5 separate regions of the Homo sapiens genome follow, and regions 1, 3, 4 and 5 are each linked to region 2. The links are contacts of gene promoters, found by promoter capture Hi-C in blood cells and fetal thymus (Javierre and others, 2016). All regions are on one chromosome and are shown on one strand. Each heading gives the region's core, a stretch centred on a gene start or on the middle of the fragment in contact. The rest is flanking DNA. Distances are from core to core; before and after follow the strand shown.

The links. The method cuts DNA at HindIII sites, captures the fragments that hold promoters and counts their contacts. A CHiCAGO score of 5 or more calls a contact.
Region 1: a contact is called between a fragment that was not itself captured here and the fragment with the promoter of NSD3 in region 2, in 15 of 17 cell types (naive CD4 T cells, activated CD4 T cells, naive CD8 T cells and 12 more). The highest score is 24.6, in naive CD4 T cells.
Region 3: a contact is called between the fragment with the promoter of STAR here and the fragment with the promoter of NSD3 in region 2, in 2 of 17 cell types (activated CD4 T cells and naive CD8 T cells). The highest score is 5.8, in activated CD4 T cells.
Region 4: a contact is called between a fragment that was not itself captured here and the fragment with the promoter of NSD3 in region 2, in 10 of 17 cell types (naive CD4 T cells, total CD4 T cells, naive CD8 T cells and 7 more). The highest score is 8.6, in naive CD4 T cells.
Region 5: a contact is called between a fragment that was not itself captured here and the fragment with the promoter of NSD3 in region 2, in 17 of 17 cell types (naive CD4 T cells, naive CD8 T cells, activated CD4 T cells and 14 more). The highest score is 34.4, in naive CD4 T cells.

The regions. Positions count from the first base shown.
Region 1 is chr8:38,190,495-38,193,194 of GRCh38, reverse strand. It overlaps BAG4 (BAG cochaperone 4), which reads right to left. Exons shown (of 5, transcript NM_004874.4): 2 at 400-507. Among named protein-coding and RNA genes, the nearest start is that of BAG4, 15 kb to the right of the region's middle. The HindIII fragment of the contact is 577 bases long and covers 1,161-1,737 here.
Region 2 is chr8:38,380,945-38,383,746 of GRCh38, reverse strand. NSD3 (nuclear receptor binding SET domain protein 3) reads left to right here and starts at 1,476. Exons shown (of 24, transcript NM_023034.2): 1 at 1,476-1,948. It also overlaps a transcript of LETM2 not described here. RefSeq lists silencers at 570-919, 1,110-1,259, 1,290-1,689 and enhancers at 1,338-2,128, 2,419-2,802. The HindIII fragment of the contact is 5,398 bases long and covers 1-2,802 here.
Region 3 is chr8:38,149,537-38,152,314 of GRCh38, reverse strand. STAR (steroidogenic acute regulatory protein) reads left to right here and starts at 1,363. Exons shown (of 7, transcript NM_000349.3): 1 at 1,363-1,560. The coding sequence starts at 1,497. RefSeq lists enhancers at 844-876, 1,225-1,524 and a promoter at 75-1,390. The HindIII fragment of the contact is 1,310 bases long and covers 80-1,389 here.
Region 4 is chr8:38,207,877-38,210,576 of GRCh38, reverse strand. BAG4 (BAG cochaperone 4) reads right to left here. Exons shown (of 5, transcript NM_004874.4): 4 at 1,310-1,564; 5 at 1-569. The coding sequence ends at 84. Among named protein-coding and RNA genes, the nearest start is that of DDHD2, 22 kb to the left of the region's middle. The HindIII fragment of the contact is 6,479 bases long and covers 1-2,700 here.
Region 5 is chr8:38,237,879-38,240,578 of GRCh38, reverse strand. It overlaps DDHD2 (DDHD domain containing 2), which reads right to left. Exons shown (of 18, transcript NM_015214.3): 5 at 2,370-2,490; 6 at 215-304. Among named protein-coding and RNA genes, the nearest start is that of DDHD2, 7.6 kb to the right of the region's middle. The HindIII fragment of the contact is 2,409 bases long and covers 84-2,492 here.

The DNA of each region.
Region 1 (2,700 bases), core at 200-2,699, 190 kb after region 2:
TGCCTGCCTTGGTCTCCCAAAGTGCTGGGATTACAGCTGTGAGCCACTGCACCCAGCCCTGCATGCTAGATTTAAAATGTATATATTTTCTGTACTTTTTATAATTTTAAAATATTTTAAATTAAATGTCTGTAATCAGTAAAGTTTTCAAAAATAAGTATATTTTATGTTTGTTCCTTCTGGGTCCTGGAAAATAATTTATTATGCCTCAAGCTATAGGTATATTTGCCTAGATATTTCCTTATCTCTGAGCTAAAAACATTAAGATGAGATTGATGGAGCCCATTAAAGCAAAGAAAAAAAACACACACTCATCACTGCTCTAAAATCTGCACAGGTTTTGAAAATAAATCTATTCATTAAGAAAAAGTTCAGAAAGTCTCTGTTTTTAAACCATACCTGGCCTTGCAATTCTGGTCTTACAGGATATGTACTTGGGTAAGGAGCCCTAGATCTCGCAGTAGAATTCCAATAGTTAGAATTGTAGCTAGGATATGGTGGCTGCTCCTAAGAAAAAAAGAAAAATAAATTCACTCTTAATAACATTCATACATCATTTTAAGATAGATTGATAGAGGCAGGTTATAAGGATTAAAAAAAAAAGCAATAGACAAAAAGCAATAAGCTGGGCACAGTGGCACACGCTTCTTGTCCCACTACTGCGGAGGCTGAGGTGGGTGGATCGCTTGAGCTCAGGTGATTGAGTCTAGTATGGTCAAGAGAGACCCCGTCTCTTAAAAACAAAAAATAAAAGAAAAAAGGGAATAGGACCCCAACTATAAAACTGCTAATTATTCAGTACATGGTAAATCAAATGCTCTATGACAAAACAATTATTACCTAGTAAAAAGCTGTTCTTATCTGTTTCGACAATGCCACCACACCAAATGCTATATAAAGGAATTCTACTACATCAAGATGATTAGCAAAATCAGAGACATTAGATCACCTCTATCCTTCTCCAATAACTAATCCTCAAGACTACTAATTTAATTAGTGCAACAAAATGGTTCTTTGCTACTGTTATATTTACCAATAACTTTGGAACACAAAGACATTACTACTAGAGTTTCGCTCAAGCACATACATCTTCAATCTCCAACTTCTTTGCCTTGACACACCCTAGTTTTTCATATTCTACTCTGTGCTATGGCTAAGCTTTCCGCTGGCAGCCTCAGTGTCAGGCATTGATGCAGAACATTTACCAATCCAAAGAGAAAATCTAGCTACGACAATAATTTCATCAGCCTTTCTCTCCAACTCAGAAAGTTAACGCATGATTTGCAATAAGCCAATAAACTTTGATAAAAGACTAAATATACTCAAAACTTCTCAGAGCACCTATTATCTGGTTTATTACATACATTTATTATCCTATGAGTTATTTTGCTTTCAACTGTATAGATTTAGGGTTTTTTTTTTTTTTTTTTTTTTGAGACAGAGTTTCGCTCTTGTTGCCCAGGCTGGAGTGCAATGGCACGATCTCGGCTCACTGCAACCTCCGCTTCCCAAGTTCAAGCAATTTTCCTGCCTCAGCCTCCTGAATAGCTGGGATTACAGGCACCTGCCACCACGCCCAGCTAATTTTTTGTACTTTTAGTAGAGACCGGGTTTCACTATTTTGGCCAGGCTGGTCTTGAACTCCTGACCTCAGGAGATCCACCCGGCTTGGCTTCCCAAAGTGCTGGAATTACAGGCGTGAGCCACACTGTGCCCGCCCAAGTATAGTTTTAAGCTTGAACAGGACCTTCGACATTTTTTCTAAAACTTTGAATATGATTTCACAAAGAAATTCATTGGCAGCTGAAATAACTGAGAGATTATCACTATTAGCTTAACTGCACTACTTATCCATTTCATAATACTTTGTTTTCAGTAATACTTTGAATTTTTTTCAGTAATCATAATTATCAACACTGTTGGTACTGTTTGTTATCTTGGTACTGTTATGCGGGTATTATAGTTGCAAATGAATACTTACATTGGTATTGTTGGGAATCAGTATTTTCACAATGGGAGATAGGAGACACAGATATAAGAATAATGAAACTTAAAACCTTATAATCCTTAATTTGAATTGTAAATATCAGTATGAATTCAAACTGTATTTTATCTTCTTTAAAAAACCACCAACTTGGCCAGGCACAGTGGCTCACGCCTGTAATCCCACCACTTTGGGAGGCCTGACGCGGGTGGATCACCTGAGGTCAGGAGTTCGAGACCAGCCTGGCCAACACGGTGAAACCCCGTCTCTACTAAAAATACAAAAATTAGCTGGGTGTGGTGGTGGGTGCCTGTAATCTCAGCTACTCAGGAAGCTGAGGCACGAGAATAGCTTGAACCCAGGAGACAGAAGTTGCAGTGAGCAGAGATCATGCCACTGCACTCCAGCCTGGGCCACAGAGCAGAGACTCCGTCTCAAAAAAAAAAAAAAAGACAACCCACCAACTTGGGCTGGGCGCAGTGGCTCAATCTGTAATCCCAGCACTTTGGGTAGCTGAGGCAAGAGGATTGCTTGGGGCCAGAGACCAGGAGTTCAAGACCAGCCTGGAAAATAATGAGACTCAGTCTTTACCCAAAAAAAAAAAAAAAAATGTCAGGTGGGCGTGATGATGGGTGCCTATAGTCCCAGCTACTCAGGAGGCTGAGAGGTGAGAGGCAGAGGCAAAGTCCAGAAATTCAAGGTTATGGTGAGCTATG
Region 2 (2,802 bases), core at 227-2,726:
GTCTTAGCCAGGATGGTCTCGATTTCCGGACCTCGTGATCCGCCTGCCTCGGCCTCCCAAAGTGCTGGGATTACAGGCGTGAGCCACTGCGCCCAGCCAATACTGATAATTCTCAGTATCTAGTATTAACCGGGTTACGTTTAAAAAAAATAGTTCATAATTAGTGCCCTTTTAAATAACTGATCTGTAGAAATCATTTAATTTCCTTAAGTGATATTTAAAGATAGAGATATCTAATTTCTTGTAATAGTACCAAAGACATCCAGCACTATAACGTCTACAGAGTATGACGTCTAGCGGTAAAATGGCTTTATTCTCAGAACAGAGTATCGGTTTCCTCATTTGCTTGCTGCCTCTGTTTCCTTTTTACGTTCACGTCTCTGTGCTGTAACCTTCCAAATCCTTATCACCAGGCCCCAGGAAATATCACCTGGTCGGCACACTCCTGCAGGGCCAGATCACTGTGCACACACTTAACCTTCCATTGTTTTCCATACGTTTCCTAGGATGCGGGGGGCTAGAGGATGACGGAGAGTTGCCTCCCGGTTCTTCCTCTCGTTCTTATCTTGGGCCCTCTAGGACAAATGTCCCTCACGTCCCTCGATGCGAAGGTCTGGCCGCGAGCAGCCGCGGCCTCCGGCACGTGACGGTCACGGAGCCGTCGCGGTCCCCCGCGGCTGGGGGGCACCCGGGGATGCGGCGGGCGCTGACGTCGTCCTCCCGGTTACCCACAAGCCTCCGGGCCGCAGCAGAGCAGGAAGAGGCGCGCGGGGCCGGCGCCTGCCGGGGAGGTCGAGGCGCTCCCTCGGCGAGCCGGCGCCGCCGGCCGGGTCTCCTACTGCTTGCAACCGGGGGAGGGGGACCATCCGACAGCTCAGCCGGGGCTGAGAGGGAGACGACGCCAAGGCGGTCTTGCATCGCCCCCGGCTTTCCAAATGCAGACCCTACCGGAACCGGAGCCCTTCCCTGACAGCCGTAGGACGGGAGACGGCCGAGGGGTCGCCTGGACTGCCCCGCCCTCGCGCGGTGACCCACCGGGGACCGTGCGAGGGTCGCTTCTAACCCTTAAGAGCTAGAGAGCCGAGTCACCCTGAGGAGCGCCGTATGGCGCTGGTTGCGCGTTGTTCTTTAATCAGCCTCACTGAACGCGCCGATCCCAGTTTTACCTCCCGGGCCCCACCTTTCCACGCCTCCTCCGGCTTCCCGGGGTGTTTTGTGTGTCACTCTCCCACGTACAGTCCCTCCCCGTCCCTCGTTCCTCGGCCCTCTCGCCCGGTCTCCCTAGTCGTCCAGACGCTAGCTGCCGCGGGCGTTCCTGGTTCGCGCTCCCGCCCCCTCCGCCCCGCCGACTCGCCGCTTCCTCCGGAGCCCCAGCGTCCCGAACCAGGGACTGCATTTCCCGGCAGGCGCCGCGGCCCGCGGCCAATGAGGGGCTGAGGATTTGGCGGCGGCGGCGCCCCGAGAGTCGGGGTGGGGGGGCTTTGTGCGCGGCGGCGGCGGGAGAGGCGGCGGCGGCGGCCAGCACGGAGGCGGAGGCCGAGGGGGCTGTGCACAGGTCGCCGCGGAGAGGCGTGCGAATTCCGAGCCGAGCGCCGAGGACCGTGCTACCCAGGCCGGGCTGCCAGCCGCAGGCTCCTCTCTGGCAGCAGCGGCGGCGCGGCGACCCCCGTCCCTCGGCCTCCCCTTCCCATCCCACCTCCCGAGCCTTCCTCTTCCCGCAGCACGCCCGGCCCGGCCCGGCCGTGGCCCTCCTCAGTGCCGGCCGCCATGGCAGAGGCGTCCGGCGCGGGGAAAATCTAGCCCGGGGATTTCATGCGGCCTAGCTCGGTTCCGCCTCCTCCTCGCGCGGCCCCAGCGGCTGCCCGCACCCCAGCCCCACTCCGGGCCTCCGTGTCTCTCCTGTGATCGCACTGACACGGCCGGGGGGTTAGAATGGAACAAACTGAAGGTAAAGTGCGTGTGCGTGTGTGTATGTGTGTGTGTGTGTGTGTGTGTGTGTGCGCGCGCGCGCGTGTGTAGTGCTAGGAAGGGCTGAGGAGGGAACGACGGGGAGGGGGCGACCTAGGGATGGAGCGCCAGACCCCAGGAGGAATGGAAGGGGAAGCGGGTGGCCTGAAAGGGCTCGAGGGGAGTCCTGACGGAGGAGCAGATGGCAAGGTGGGGGGTGTGGAGGGAATTGGGGGGTGGGCCAGGGGAGGTGGGGAGTGGGATGGGAGTCGGAGTGGCGCTGAGCTGGGAATTGGGAAAGTGGGATGGGGGCGGGGATAAGGATGGATCGGGGAGGGGCAGGGAAAGGGGAGAAGAGTTGCATGGAGATTACAGACCTGGGTGGACTGATAAATAGGGAGATTTGGGGATGGAGTGTAGGAACCAGAAGAGTCTGGGAGAAGGGGATAAATTTGCTGGAGAAATGGGGCATTTTATGGGAATGAAGGGAGAAATGAGGAATGGAAGTGAAGGAAAAGGTGGATTAGGAAAGGGGATGAGGCAGGCTGCAATAGGAGAATGGGAAATAGACGCAGGAAACTGGAAGACAGGATTGGGCTAGGGAAGGAAATTAACTGAATGATGACAGGGATGAGAACGATCGACTTAGCGTCAGAGTGGGAGGAAGAGAAGGGGATGGAGGTCGTTAAAGTGTTAGGAAGGGAGGCCTTTTGTTCCTGTATTTGTGTGTATTCTGTGTCTTTCTTTCAAGGCTAGAGAATAGAGAAGCTGGTGGTTATGGGATTGTGATTGTTGTGAAATGGGGAGGTGTGGGTTTTACTGTTTTGAGGGAGAAGGCGATGTGTTTGTGTTATG
Region 3 (2,778 bases), core at 114-2,613, 230 kb after region 2:
TGCCCGCCTCAGCCTCCCAAAGTGCTGGGATTACAGGCATGAGCCACTGTGCCCAGCCCATGCCCTGTCTTTTCAAGCTTTCTGCACATACCAAGACCCCCAGCCCAGCTCACTCAGACAAAGCTACTGGCGGGAAAGTGTGAGGAAGGGTGTGGGCGTGGCCCAGGCCCTCCTCTTCTCTCTGCCGTATACTGATAGGGCTGCCCCGCCCCCCCCCGCCCCCCCGCGACTCAGCCACGAGAGGTCATCCTTGCTCCAGCACAGACCCCTAAGAACCCTCACTCGGAACAGGACTTTGGGAAAGGTGGTTTCTATAAATAGATGAGTAAATAAATTGACAGTTGAATATACCAAGCGTCCTGGGGACCGCAGGAGGAACTGTGTACAGATGGCTTGAAGGCCAGAGGCTTGGGTTGTTGTCCTGGCCCTGCCACTGGCCAGCTGTTTGACCTTGAACAAGTCAGTTCCACTCTGTGGACTTCAGGGTCCTCACCCAGAAGAAGAGCAGCCATATGGTCTCTACTGCCTGGTAAACACCCTGGCTCACTCTCGCGAGACGGTGGTTCTCAAAGTGTAGTGTGTAGTCCACACAACACCTGCATTGCAACCACTGGGTATTTATTTATTTATTTATTTAATTTATTTATTTATGACGGAGTCTCACTCTGTCGCCCAGGATGGAGTGCAGTGGCACGATCTTGGCTTACTGCAACCTCTGCCTCCTGGGTTCAAGTGATTCTCATGCCTCAGCCTCCCGAGTAGCTGGGACTACAGGTGCCTGCCACATCACCCGGCTAATTTTTTGTATTTTTAGTAGAGATGAGGTTTCACCATGTTGGCCATGCTGGTCTCGAACGCCTGACCTCAAGTGATCTGCCCACCTCGGCCTCCCAAAGTGCTGGGGTTACAGGCGTAAGCCACCGCGCCTGGCCAAGGGAAGTTTTTTTCTTTTCTTTTTTTCTTTTTTCTTTTCTTTTCCTTCTTTTTTTTTTTTTTTTTTTTTTTTTTTTTTTTTTTTAACACAGGTTTCTGAGCCTCAATTCCAGATCAGCTGAGCCTGGAGTTTCTGAAGACAAGGGCTAGAAATCTGCACTTTAAAGTCTTGAAAACCACTGTGTGCCTTCATCTAAGCTGCCCCTGCTTCTCTCCCCTCCATCCCTCGCCTGGCCCTGTCCTCCCTACTCTCCCCTGCACCCTCCCCCGCCCCAAGCTCCCCACAAACGGCCAAAGCAGCAGTGTGAGGCAATCGCTCTATCCTTGACCCCTTCCTTTGCACAGTGAGTGATGGCGTTTTTATCTCCTGATGATGATGCACAGCCTTCAGCGGGGGACATTTAAGACGCAGAACACCAGGTCCAGGCTGCAGCTGCGGGACTCAGAGGCGAAGCTTGAGGGGCTCAGGAAGGACGAAGAACCACCCTTGAGAGAAGAGGCAGCAGCAGCGGCGGCAGCAGCAGCGGCAGCGACCCCACCACTGCCACATTTGCCAGGAAACAATGCTGCTAGCGACATTCAAGCTGTGCGCTGGGAGCTCCTACAGACACATGCGCAACATGAAGGGTGAGCGCTGCGGGAAGGAGGCGATGAGGGGTTGGCCAGCTCTCAGCGGATGAGGCTCAGGCCACCCAATTCTGATCCTAGTTGTGCCTCTTACTGGGTGAACCTGGGCAAGTTTCTTCCCTTCTTGAATCTCAGTTTTCCCCTCGGAAGAAGTGGGCTGGTTACTAAGATATATCCCTTCCAGATTCTATAATTTCTGGTCTCCCCTCCAGGACTCCAATCTTTTTTTCTCCTTTTCTTTCATTTTTATTCTTTTTCTTTCTTCCTTCCCTCCTTCCTTTCCTTTCTTTCTTCCTTTCTTCCTTCCCCTTTTCCTTCATTCGTTCTTTTTTTCTTCCGCCTTTTCTTTTTTTTTTGTTTGAATAAAGGTCTCTGTCACAGAGGCTGGAGTACAGTAGAACAATCATAGCTCACTGCAGCCTCAAACTCATGGGCTCAAGCCATCCTCCCACCTCAGCCTCTTGAGTACCTGGGACTACAGGCGTGCACCACCACAACCAGCTAGTTTTATTTATTTATTTTTATTTTTATTTTTTTTAGAGACAATGTCTTGCTATATTGGTCACGCTGGTCTTGACCCCCTGGGCTCAAGGGATTCTCCCACCTTGGCCTCCCAAAGTGCTGGGATTACAGGTGTGAGCCGCCACACCTGGCTTACTTTATTTTGAGATGGAGTCTCACTCTGTTGCCCAGCCTGGAGCGCAGTGGCACGATCTCGGCTCACTGCAACCTCCGCCTCCTGGGTAGCTGGGATTACAGGTGCATGCCACCACGCCTGGCTAGTTTTTGTATTTTTAGTAGAGACAGGGTTTCGCCACGTCGACCAGACTGGTCTTGAACTCCTGACCTCAGGTGATCTGCCTCCCAAACTGCTGGGATTATAGGCATGAGCCATGGCGCTCAGCCTATTTTATTTTTGAGGCAGTCTCGCTCTGTTGCCTAGGCTGGAGTGCACTGGCGCTATCTTGGCTCACTGCAGCCTCTGCGTCCTGGGTTCAAGCAATTCTCCTGCCTCAGCCTCCTGAGTGGCTGGGACCACAGGCGTGCACCACCATGCCTGGCCATCTTTCTTGAACTATTCCTGACTTTGCCTTCCTTCAGAGCTGGACAAGTCTTGTAGCAGGGGTACACAGGAAAGTCTTGCCCACAGTGGCAGAGTAAATATTAGACTTGACTCCCACAGGCAAAAAAAGACGGAGAAGAGACATAGGGGAGTAA
Region 4 (2,700 bases), core at 193-2,692, 170 kb after region 2:
GCATTTCAAAAAGAGGGTAATTAACCAAATCAAGTGTTCTTTGGTCAAGTTAGTAACAGGCTTCCACTTTGTTCTAAATCCTTTCATAATCCTTTTTTTTCTAATTTTTCCAGTATGGCCTGAATCTTACAAACAGCCTCTTTTCTGGCCTGCCGTACAGAGTCCTGGCCCCCAGTTTCAACTGAATCCAGTTCCAAAAGTTCCTTGGTTAGCATTTCTTCCAGAAGCCAGTATGCTTTGTCTGTCTTTTTTCCTACAAATTCTTCTACTTCTTGTTCAAGATACTGGACCTTCTCCAGCACATGTATGATTTTTTTAATACTCGGAGGAGTACTTTCATCTGAAGGTACACATTCTTCAGGAAGACTGCTACTTTGATCTTGATTGTTGGGATGGTCACTGGTGGCATTACCATACAGCTGAGGCTCAGCACTATACTGGACTTGGGAATCCAAAAGATCTGAATCATCATTGTTCACTGTCCCCGAGGATTCGTACTGATGGACACTGCAAGGAAAGTTGTGCCGGTTCATGCTTTGATCTGATTGGCTATAGGGGTATGAAGAATCCTTGGAGTGGGAGAGCAAAAAGAGGAAAAGAGCTGTTTTAATGGGAATGCATCAACATCAAATTTGTTAGCCCACATCTTTCACTTGACCAGAAAGGTACATGAAAAGATTCCCTAACAATAAAATTGGACCCCTCTCCTTAATCATTTGCAAAAAAACACAGTCCTAAGAAGATAAAAGGGAGTGCCCTGTCAGACAAAAGGCACAGAATTTTTGAGTTATAATGGCTGGAACCTGCCCTGTGGCAGGTCCATCACCATGAGCACCTCATAGTCCATCCTGTGACCTAATTAATAAGAATTAGTTTTTCCCCTAAAAGGTTAAAAACCTCAAGCAAGGTCTTGAAAAGGAACACAGCCACAAGTGATAATGTTCAAGTCTGTGGTTTAAATACAAGCTCATGCTACAGATATTTCACATTGGTTTTGTCTTCTGTTCATAGATTATTTGAAGTAGTAAAATGCATCTTTGCATTTAACGTTTAGAAGAATTACAACAAACAGAAAATGTGTATCTTTCTGTCTTTTAACAAAAACGATGTGAATCTAAATCTTCTCTAAATATAAAGTCTATTAAAAAAAAGAAAAAGGAAACCGAGCTGAGGTAAAGCTATAGATAAGTAGTCACCAACTTTTTGTAATTAGTCCCCATTTAACACAAACCAGTACAGAAACTATATAAACCATGTTATGTTCTCCTAATTACACACACATTAAAGGAACAACATTTAGGTCTCCTACCTTGGGCTGCTGGACTGGGGGTGAAGGGGGTGACTGGGGAGAGCCACTGCTAGGCCATGGTGAAGTACTTTCAGTCATGTAGAGATTGCCGGGTGGTGCTGAGGGCGCTGATGAAGGCCAGGGATAACGGCCACCCATTCCATAAGCACCAGGAGAAGCCCACGCATCTTCTTGTGGTCGTACAGTCGGTCCTGATTGTGGAACACTACGATTACCATCTCCATAAGGATAATGGGGCAGGGTCATTCCAGGGTTCTAGATTGAGAAGAAGAAATATACCAGTCATTGTGAAAAACTTATAATAAAAATATTCTGCTACAGGCAGATTCTGAGATGCTTCCTCTCTTCTTAACAGAGTATACATTAGCTGCTACCGGACTAAACTGTAGTAAATCTAATTAATCAGCTGCAGTAATTTCTCCAAGCCTCAAAAAGTTGGTTCCAAAGATACCAGGGGTAGATTTAATGACAATAAAACTCAGAAGGAATAAGGCCTAAAAATTCAATGGATGAAACCCAAGTCTGTCCCATAGATACTATAAACAAACGGACCCATATGCTATAAGGAAGCACAAATAAAGACATGTTAGAACTCCTCTTGAAGTGAACAGAGAAATAAACATAGTTATTCACAGAATATTAAAAAAACATGAACCTGGCCAGGCGCGGTGGCTCACGCCTGTAATCCCAGCACTTTGGGAGGCTGAGATGGGCGGATCACGAGGTCAGGAGATCGAGACCATCCTGGCTAACAAGGTGAAACCCCATCTCTACTAAAAATACAAAAAAAATTAGCTGGGCGCGGTGGCGGGCGCTTGTAGTCCCAGCTACTCGGGAGGCTGAGGCCGGAGAATGGCATGAACCCAGGAGGTGGAGCTTGCAGTGAGCCTAGACCGTGCCACTGCACTCCAGCCTGGGCGACAGAGCGAGACTCCGTCTCAAAAAAAAAAAAAAAAAAAAGAACCTAACAGGGTGCTAAAAAAGGCTAAGATTTGCCTGGCACGGTGGCTCATGCCTGTAATCCCAGCACTTTGGGAGGCCGAGGGGGGCAGATCACGAGGTCAGGAGATCAAGACCATCCTGGCCAACATGGTGAAACCCCATCTCTACTAAAAATACAAAAATGAGCTGGGCGTGATGGCGCGTGCTTGTAATCCCAGCTACTTGGGAGGCTGAGGCAGAAGAATTGCTTGAACCCAGGAGGTAGAGGTTGCAGTGAGCCAAGATCACGCCACAAAAAAAAAAAAAAGGCTAAGATAGGGAAACTTTCAAGCAGCAACTCTCTAAAGATTACTTTCAGTATAAAAATTTATGATTATGACCTTCAGCCAAAGTCCATTTACTGCAATAGCTGCCACAAATAAGAAAGGCATCAATATAAAAGCCTTCCC
Region 5 (2,700 bases), core at 39-2,538, 140 kb after region 2:
CATTTGAGACTATTACAATAGTTAAGAGTATAAACTATTAGACTCAGGAATTTCCTAGCACTTCAGGTCTAAGCTGAGAAGCTTTACTACCTTGCCACCTGTCTTTAACTCTCCAAATCTTCTTATGCAGCTAAGACAATAGACCAAAGACAAGGCTTTATCTCAGCTCACAAGAGCACTGATTAATATTCTCTCACATGCTTTGCAAACCTACCACACTGTACAATGCTTCGAAAGCGGAGATCACAAGCTGGTCCAATCCCATGGACTACAAAAACCAAGTGATCTATTTGTAAAGGTTCTCCTATAAATGAAATTAAAAAGAAAATTATTCTGTATAATTAGTCATGTATTCTAATATCATTCATCATGAAAAGGTTATAAATATGAGCAAGTTAAAAGATGAACAGATAATTTAAAAGATACAAAATAGTCCTTTAAGTACCTAGCAAAAATACACTGATTTTACTTGGTTTCTAATTTATCTTGAAATAAGTCTGTAAAATTTTTTTCAGGACTTTTTTCTTTTTTTTCTGATCTCTGAAAAAGAAAACTCGGCTGGGCGCGGTGGCTCACGGCTGTAATCCCAGCACTTTGGGAGGCCAAGGCAGGTAGATCATGAGGTCAGGAGTTCGAGACCAGCCTGACCAACACGGTGAAACTTCATCTCTACTAAAAATACAAAATTAGCCGGGTGTGGTGGCACATGCCTGTAATCCCAGCTACTCGCGAGGCTGAGGCAGAAGAATCACTTGAACCCTGGAGGTGGCAGAGGTTGCAGTGAGCCGAGATCACACCACTGCACTCCAGCCTGGGTGACAGAGCAAGACTCTGTCTCCAAAAAAAAAAACTCTTTTTTTTTTTTTTTTAAATTATGGTTTTTTTTTTGTTTGTGACAGAGTCTTGCTCTGTCACCCAGGCTGGAGTGCAGTGGCACGATCTTGGCTCACTGCAACCTCTGCCTCCCGGGTTTAAGCGATTCTCCTGCCTCAGCCTCCCGAGTAGTTGGGACTACACGCACACGCCACCACACCTGGCTAATTTTTTGTAGTTTTAGTAGAGACAGGGTGTTTCACCGTGTTAGCCAGAATGGTCTCGACCTCCTGACCCGCCCGCCTCAGCCTCCCAAAGTGCTGGGATTACAGCCGTGAGCCAACACACTTGGCCTTTTTTCAGGTTTTAAAAACTTTTTTTTTTTTTTTTTTGAGACAGAGTCTCACTCTGTCGCCTAGGCTGGAGTGCAGTGGCATGATAAACACTCATTCCAGCCTCAACCTTCTGGGCTCGAGTGATCCTCCTGCCTCAGCCTCCAAAATAGCTGAGACTACAGATGTGTGCTACCATGCCCAGTTAATTTTTGTATTTTTTGTACAGACAGGGTTTCGCCATATTGCCCAGGCTGGTCTCGAACTCCTGGGCTCAAGTGATCCTTCCACCTTGGCCTCCCCAAGTGCTGGGATTACAGGCATGAGCTACCACGTGCAGCCAGGTTTTTAAAACTTTTTATTTCTAAATAACTAGAAATGTACAGAAAACTAGAAAGCATAGTACAGACACTCCCACATACTTTTTACAGAGATTCAACTTTTTAACAATTACATTTGCTTTATGATTCTCTGTGTGTGTACACACACACACACACACATTTATTTTTCTGAATCATTAGAAAGCAGACTACATACATCATCAGGTTGCATGCACCATACCTCTTTAACCCTTTAATACCATAATGTGTATTTCCTAAGTATATTATCTTACATAACCATAATACAGTTATTGAATCCAGGCAACTGAACATTGATAAAATACTTTTATCTAGTATTTCATTTTTATCAATGTTTGGTATGTTTTTAAAGCCTGAAATTTTAAACTCATCTTTTTAAATTACAGTAAAGCTAGGATTTTGTCCAAGAGACAAGAAAAAAGGAATATTATAATCCAATTAAATATATTATAAAACCATAAGTGACCCTACCTAGATAGCAGTGCATAATCAGGTCCTGCTGAAAAACAGTTTTCCTTAGTTGAAAATCTTCAAGGACAAGGAGTTATTACCAGGTATAAATTTCTAGTCAAGTAGGTGGAATCACACTTCTTGGAATTAGGACTAAATCAGTTCATCTGTACTTAGTGACTTCCTGGATAGTATTGCCAAATTTTACCCATCCTACCATATGTTTTAAAAGATATTTTTACATCTATTAAGATTCTTAGTAGACGAAGTGATGCTAATCTCAACTTGGAATAAACCCATATGATTAAAGATGATTTTTAAGCCTTGAGGTAATCTAAATCCACAGAAAAAGGTCACAATTTAAGGAGTAAACAAATACATCCAAAGGTAAGAAAAAATAAACGATTAACATTACCACAATGAATGTCAACAGAGATGTTCTCAACTCCTCTCTTCACAGTTCTTGGTCGACCCTGCTCCGTGGGTGTTGAACCCCAATCATCAGACCCTGCAACTGGCTGGTAATGCACCATAAGCTTAAACAGAACAGATCAGAGCAATAAAAATATTCTGCAATACAATCATCTCTATACAATGCAGTTTTAAGTGTAGAATCATGTCTTTCAAACCACACAGTAAAATCTGAACTGGAGTTTTGATATACAACTCGTATGGCTTGAAATGAGAACCGTGAAAATATATTAGGCTAACAGATCTGTCAATAGTCCCTTTCTACATGGAAGACA